2 separate regions of the Homo sapiens genome follow, and region 1 is linked to region 2. Evidence: promoter capture Hi-C in 16 types of primary human blood cells and fetal thymus (Javierre and others, 2016). All regions are on one chromosome and are shown on one strand. The core of a region is centred on a gene start or on the middle of the fragment in contact, and the rest is flanking DNA. Distances in the headings are between cores, read along the strand shown.

Region 1 (3,797 bases), core at 987-3,486, 680 kb after region 2:
AGAACCCCTCACCCTAGAGCAGGCCTCCCCAGCCTTGGCCCCCACTCACTTCATGGGGGACTTCCACGCCCAAGTCAGCTTCCATCAGGAAGATCCTGGCGATCTTCTCACATGGCCCATGCAGGATTCTGGAAATCAGCGGGTACTCGCAGTCTTTTAATTTTGTCCGCTCTGAAAAAGAAGGTGGTTTACAAAAATCACGGGAGATTAGGATCACCTCTGTCTGTTCCAGATTAGGAACTGATAGAAAATGTGCGTCTAGGGGCGCAGGGAACCCTAAGAACACAGACCTCGCTAACAGCGCTGCCCTGAGAGATTCCTGCTCATGCAGAAGGGAGGCAGAACAGGGCCCCCAGATCTGCCACTTTGGCATAAGGATTAAGTGGAGCGGCTGGCAATTGAGAAGAAGAAGATACAAGTGAGGCTCTTTGCCCTCCCCTATTTGCCAAAAAGCAGGACATAAATTTGTCAAGGTGTGCCCCCGTCCCTCTCTAGGCAATGATGGAGTTAATCACCAGAGACAACCCGAGCCCCTCCTCAGCCTGGAGAGGGCACCAGAGGAACCTGCACAGCACGTCCCGCTGAAGCCCTTCCCTTCCCGCAGCTCCCCGTGCGGTGACCTTCCCACCCTTCGCCTCCCCAGAAACTCAGGCCCTTCTCCTCTGTCTTGTCACTTCTCTAAAAACTTACTGCTCTTTTGTGAATATGCTATTTAAGCCCAAATTCTGACCATTCATCCCTGGATATTCCAAAGGGCATGCATGATGCAAGTGTTAACAAACTTCTGTTTGTTCTTCTCCTTAATCTGTCTTTTGTTAATCTAAATACAGGGCCCCAGCCAGTGAACCTAAATGGGTAGAAAGAGAAGATAATTTTCCTCCCCTACAGTGTCATTCAGCAAAGGTGCAGCTTGAAGAGAAACAAGATCTGAGGGGTGGGAGAAAGGAAAGCTGAGACGGGAGGGCCAGGGCCTGATGCACTGCGACACGCACCCCACCCTTCCTGACTCGGCGCCAAGGAGCTAGGTACCCACCCATCCATTTCTCTGGAAGAGGCGGAGAGGGAGGCTTCCTATAGCTTGGTGGGATTCTCCTTCAGAATCCTGAAAGAATTAAACTTAATGTACTGAGCGACCTAGAAAATCCAAGGACATTTTAATGTGCTTTAAATTCGAAGCCAAAAGTATGTTTTCTTTTCCTCAAGGCTTCCATAGTGTGCCTGGGTTTGGGTGGGGGAGAAATGTTCATGCTGGGAGGCACAGTGTGCCCTAGCCCACTAGGCAAGCCAGCACGGAGCCCATCTGGAAGGGAGTACAGTCAGTGGTTGGTGGGGAGGGGGCTTGCTGAACAGGTAGAGACCTTTTGCTTTTACGATCCAGAAGTGGGGCAGGTACTTACCCCCAGACTCGTGAACGATGTAGAGTGCGAACTCACTGGGGCCATCTTCCACCTGCACAGGCAGTCACAGGAAGTCAGATCACGGTGCTTGGAGATGGGAGAGAACTGAGAGGGTCCCCTGACAGTAACTACACCCCCAGTAACACACACGCAAGTTGCAAGGAACCTGTCCTCTCCCAACCTCCTCTTGCTTGAAATCCGAGAAACCAAAGCTCAGCAGAGGGACCCTTGCTAGACCTTCTGCCCAGGCAGCTTCTGCCACGGGCAGCTTTCCCCAGAACCCCACCCCCAACAGAATAGCAGACCACTGGCATCCTGGGGCAAGGCTGCTCCTGACCAGGCTTACCCTAAATTTGTTCAGCAGCAGGGTGAGCACCTGCAGGGTTGTCATGGTGCTGTTGACCCTCACATTGGTCACGGATCCATAGGCTGGAGTAAACACGGAGGTCTGTACCAGGAAGGGAGAGAAGTTCAGGTCAGGCCCAGAGGGGACAAGGGACTGACATCACAACGGTGAACAGACCAAGGCAGCAGGTGACGCTGAGATCTGGGAACACCTGCACCTGTCCATTCACGCTGATGCACACATAAGCTGTTCCCAGACCTGGGAGACACTCCGGGAAGCTGTAGTAGTGCACTCCTTCCAGAGGCCTAAGGAAGATGTCTACACACCCAGAAGGGCCAGCTCTCTGGACCCGAGGAACCAGGGCCATGGAAGTCATTCACAAGGGTGGGGGAATCAGTCTCTCCATCACTCTTTCTATTGATTAAGTCACCAGTTGTCTGTTGATTCTAAGGCTGAAAGTTACCCAATCTGTCTCCTCCTCTTCATTCTCCCAGCAGTGCCTAGTAGAGGCACTGATCACACCATATCAGCTTCCCAGCTTGTTCCCTTCTGGTCTCAGTCCCTCTAATCCGTAGTCTGCACCGCTGCCTACAGGAACGGACTTCTAAAACCCTTGCACCTCCAAGTGACGTCTAGCCCAGCTGCATCCATACAGTCTCGGCTCCCTTCCCTACCCTGCTCCATACCATCTGAATCAGAGTCTGCGTCTGTAGAACACAAGGCGAAGCGATCTGTGCAGTTCAATGTGAGAAGCACTGTTTGAAAGCGCGGGTCTAAAAGTATCTGAAGGCTTCCTGGGGACTGTGCAATAACATCTGTAGTTCTTCTCATTGTCTCGCACGTATGACACTATGGTTGCCTAACAAGCACCATGTGCTCCAGTCACAGAGCTTCTTCACAATTTGGCTGGGGGGTGGGGGGACACATTATATTTTTGCAGGTATCTTGCCTTTGCCTAAGAGACACCATATATGAAATCAACCAGGACTCTGCCTGACACATAATAGGTCCGTCCTCAATAAACCCTAGCTGTGTATTGAACCCGCTAAGATTTTACATACAATCATTGATTTAATATTCATAACAACCCTTTGAGGCAGCTATAACTAGTCCCCTTTTCTTAGAAAGGAATCAGAGGCTTTAGGAGGTTAACCAGCTTGTTCAGAGTTACCCACCTAGAAAAGACAGAGCCCTGACTCAAAGGATTCCATGATTCCTGAAAACCTACATGTTACCCCCCTGGTGCTGGTGCCTCCCAGCGAATGTGACTCCTCTGCAGGTGAACCTCTCCTTGCTTTTCAAACTCAAGTTTAGATTCGCATATTCCTCCTCTGAGATCCTAGCTCTGTTTTCCCAAGGAGGTAGCTAAGGCTCAGAGAGCTCAAGGACCTATTCAGTATCCCCGCTCTGATAAGTCCAGGCACACCTGGGAGCCATTGTGAGTTCAGGTCCAGACCATCACAATGAAGCGAATATCTCAATAAAGTGAGTCACACAAATGTTTTGGTTTCCCAGGGCATATACAAGATATGTTTATACTATACTGTAGTTTCTTAAGGGTGAGACAGTACTACATCTAAAAAATATGCATGCCTTAATTAAAACTACTTTATTGCTAAAAAATCTGACACAGAGACACAAAGTGAGCACATAGTGTTGGAAAACGGCACCGATAGACTTGTTCAACACAAGGTTGCCACACACCTTCAATTTGCAGAAACCGCAGGTGCAGCAAAAAAAAAAAAAAAAGTGCACATTTTTGCAAATGGAAGGTTGCTGAACAGCAACCTTCCATTTGCAAAAATCTGCAAGGTACAGTAACAAGAAGCACAATAAAATGAAGCACGCTGTGCCAGAGTCAGACTCAACCTCGACCTGCTTCCCCCAGCTCGATTCTAGTTGAGGTGCAGAATGACTGAGTTATACAGAAAGCCAGGATTAGGATTAGGCTTTCTTGTCCAAAGAAATATGGAAGAGAGGGCCAGGTGCAGTGGCTTACGCCTGTAATCCCAGCACTTTGGTAGGCAAAGGCGGGCGGATCACGAGGTCAGGAG
Region 2 (3,629 bases), core at 428-2,927:
AGAACTTACGTTAAAAAAAAGTTCCTATGGTAACAACTTTTAATGCTATTTTATTCAGTCTCCATGGTCTATCAGATAGGTAATGTAGTAACACTAATTTTACAGATAAAGCTAAAATCTGGAAGCAATGTGGAATAATGGAACAAGGTTGGATTTTTGTATTGTGTCCTAGTTTAAATATGGCTTTCCGACATAGAGCTGTTTGATTATAGGTAAATTGTTCTACTTTAATTGGCTTTTGTTTACTCCTTTGTAGACGAGGGATTTCACTACCAACTTTGCAGGATTGTGATGGGGAGAGAATACGTAAAGACCCTTATCAACTATCTGGCACTTGAAGAATGGCAGATGATAATGATGATGATGTTGTAAAGAATGAATGACTTGGCCAGGTAATGGAGCTTCTGGTATTGGGAGGCAAGGCTTTAAACACACCTGCCTGACTCCACGGTCCATGCTGTCAATTCTCCAGTGTGAATGAAGTGGGCAGGCAAGGGTGAGAAACGCTAAGGTTTTTACTCAGTAAGTCTCCATCACAGGCCCTATTCTAGGCTCAGGAATGCAAAGATGATTACCATCATAGCTCTGTCCTCAAAGGTCTCCAATCTATTTAGCATTAAGCATATGTGGAGTTTCAGAAGGAACCAACGGCGAGACTGGTGAATCAATGCCCAGTGCCTCACCATACTCCCCCAGTGTATGCTCAATAGTTCGTTGAACTGTGGAGATAAGTTGGTGGGTAGGGTCTCAGAAGAATGAGAGAGGACAGGAGACACAGATTAGATGTTTAGTTTCATATTAGACTGGCTCCTCTGAGCCAGAAGTCGAGGATGAGTGAACCCGCAGTGGGAGTGAGATGACATTCTTTGTCAGCTGAGTAACCCACTTAGTGAAGGAGGTTCACGGAGTTGGAAAATCGGTAGGGGGAACGGAACGAGGCAGTGGGCTCCCATGTTAGGTTGAAAGGCAGGTGTTGGCTTGAAGCCAGTTACTGTTTACACCGCAGCTCAGCAGCTTGGAAACTGGAGCAGGAGGTGTGGCTGGGCTTACCCAACGCTGGGATTTGAGCCCAGGGTGCCTACTCCATTGCCTGGCCTACAGTTCTCAGTAAATTGTATGAGGACTACAGAAAGTTATCTGTTTTCGCCTTTGTCTTCAAGCAGGCACGGTAATGCCCCCATTTTCCAGATGAGGCAATTGAGGCCAGAAACATTAGGGGACGGTGAAGCCTAAAGCAGATTTGTTAGGACAGGCCGGCCCAAACGCACCAGGAGCGCCCCTCACTCTGGAGAGGCCACCGACTGGACAGCGTCTGCCTGTATCGCCTATCTCCAGCAAATCAGGCGCCTGGAAGAGGATCCCCGGTGGGTCTCACGGAGGGCGGCTCCGGCTTCAACCCCGCCGTTCCCAGCAGGCCATGCGGCTGCCCTCCAGACGCCCGCGTGGGCACGAGTCAGGGGTCCAGTGTTGCTAGTAATAAAAGATCAACATCCGGGCCTCGTAACTCACAACCTCCAGCGAATGCCAAGAAGGCCCCAGGGCCCTGGCGCCCCGGCAACCGCCCACGTCCGGGGGCCAGGCCTGCCCCCGCCCGCGCTGATTGGAGGGCAGCGAAAGCGCCGTCCAGCGATTGGTAGGTGGTGTCACAAAGGGGCGGGGCGCGGCGGCAGCGGAGCGTTGTCGGCCAGTGCCTTCCGTGAAGTTGCTCGCCGGGTCGTTGGGCCCTGTCGACCTGTAGGCGGGCGAGCGAGCCAGCGGACAAGACTGCGGGTGAGGCTGAGCTAGCGAGCGGCCGGCAGGGGGGGCGCCCGGGCTGCGAGCCGCTGAGCCCAGCCGCGCTGCCGCCGCCGGCCGTCGTGGGGCCGGAATGGCGCAAGGCCGGAGTGGCGCGGGCGCTCGGCGCTGGGCTGCCGGGTAGAGTCCTGTCCCCGCCCCTCGCCTTGCGGCCTGACGCCGGCCGCTGCTGCCCGGGGACCGGAGCGGCGGGCCGCCTTTGCCCAGGACACACGCTCTGGCGTTTGTTCCTTTGGGCGTGACGCCAGCTTCAACGGGTACGCGGCTTTCCCGACGGGTGCTGATCTCCGAGTCGCTGTTGTCACGCGGACTGCTGTCCTCCAGATTCAGGCCGGTGGGTCTGGGGAGCCCGGATTGGTCTTGGAGGAGCAACGGCTGCGCAGGTGACTCGGTGGCCTCAAGTGTGTAGGTACCTGGATGGCGCGAGGAGATGCTGGCTCTGAAATACTTCCCAATTCCGCTTGCAGATGAACTCCGGACTAGAGTTTAGGCTACAGACAAGTTAGGCGGTTGATGTGATTCTGTAGCTCGTATTTCGAACTTTAGGGATGTTTTGATGTATCAGTAAATGTAGATCTGTGTCACAGTTTTAATGGCAGCTTCACATTCCGGATATCTTTATGTTGGGGAAAATGTTTCAAAGGTAACTGCTCTTCTGTAGCTAAGCTTCTTTAGAGCAGAGGTTGGAGAAAATTCTGAGTTACTGAAATTACGTATTCAGCGCTATTGCCTGTTTACCTTTAACTTCCATTTCATCCTTGGAGTTGTGTTTTTAGAAACTTTTCAGAAGAAATGAGAGAAATGCTTTGGGAATTGATTTTTTTTTTTTTTTTAAGTTCTAGGGTACATGTGCACAACGTGCAGGTTTGGTACATAGCTATACATGTGCCATGTTGGTTTTCTGCACCGACTAACTCGTCATTTATATTGCGTATTTCTCTTAATGCTATCCCTCCCCCCATCTCACTCCCCACGACAGGCCCCAGTGTGTGATGTTCCCCTCCCTGTGTCCAAGTGTTCTCATTGTTGAGTTCCCATCTATGAGTGAGAACATGGCGGTGTTTGGTTTTCTGTCCTTGTGACAGTTTGCTGAGAATGATGGTTTCCAGCTTCATCCATGTCCATGCAAAGGACATGAACTCATCCTTTTTTTATGGCTGCATAGTATTCCATGGTGTATATGTGCCACATATTCTTAATCCACTCTATCACTGATGGACATTTGGGTTGGTTCCAAGTCTTTGCTGTTGTGAATTGTGCCACAGTAAACATACGTGTGCATGTGTCTTTATAGTGGCATGATTTATAATCCTTTGGGTATATACCCAGTAATGGGATCGCTGGGTCAAATGGTATTTCTAGTTCTAGATCCTTGAGGAATTGCCACACTGTTTTCCACAACGGTTGAACTAATTTACAGTCCCACCAACAGTGTAAAAGTGTTCCTATTTCTACACATCCTCTCCAGCATCTGTTGTTTCCTAACTTTCTAATGATCGCCATTCTAACTGGTGTGAGATGGTATCTCACTGTGGTTTTGATTTGCATTTTTCTGATGACCAGTGATGATGAGTGTTTTTTCATGTGTCTGTTGGCTGCATAAATATCTTCTTTTGAGAACTGTCTGTTCATATCCTTTGCCCACTTTTTGATGCGGTTGTTTTTTTCTTGAAAATTTGTCTAAGTTCTTTGTAGATTCTGGATATTAGCCCTCTGTCAGATGGGTAGATTGCAAAATTTTTTTCCCATTCTGTAGGTTGCCTGTTCACTCTGATGGTAGTTTCTTTTGCTGTGCAGAAGCTCTTTAGTTTAATTAGATCCCATTTGTCTATTTT

What was found. The method cuts DNA at HindIII sites, captures the fragments that hold promoters and counts their contacts. A CHiCAGO score of 5 or more calls a contact.
Region 1: a contact is called between a fragment that was not itself captured here and the fragment with the promoter of ZFAND4 in region 2, in 1 of 17 cell types (fetal thymus). The highest score is 5.7, in fetal thymus.

What each region holds. Positions count from the first base shown.
Region 1 is chr10:44,987,322-44,991,118 of GRCh38, reverse strand. RASSF4 (Ras association domain family member 4) reads right to left here. Exons shown (of 11, transcript NM_032023.4): 7 at 1,744-1,845; 8 at 1,398-1,449; 9 at 50-171. Among named protein-coding and RNA genes, the nearest start is that of DEPP1, 10 kb to the right of the region's middle. RefSeq lists an enhancer at 1-117. The HindIII fragment of the contact is 6,881 bases long and covers 1-3,797 here.
Region 2 is chr10:45,670,820-45,674,448 of GRCh38, reverse strand. It overlaps ZFAND4 (zinc finger AN1-type containing 4), which reads left to right and starts at 1,677. Exons shown (of 10, transcript NM_174890.4): 1 at 1,677-2,199. RefSeq lists a silencer at 1,375-2,094. The HindIII fragment of the contact is 4,202 bases long and covers 1-2,462 here.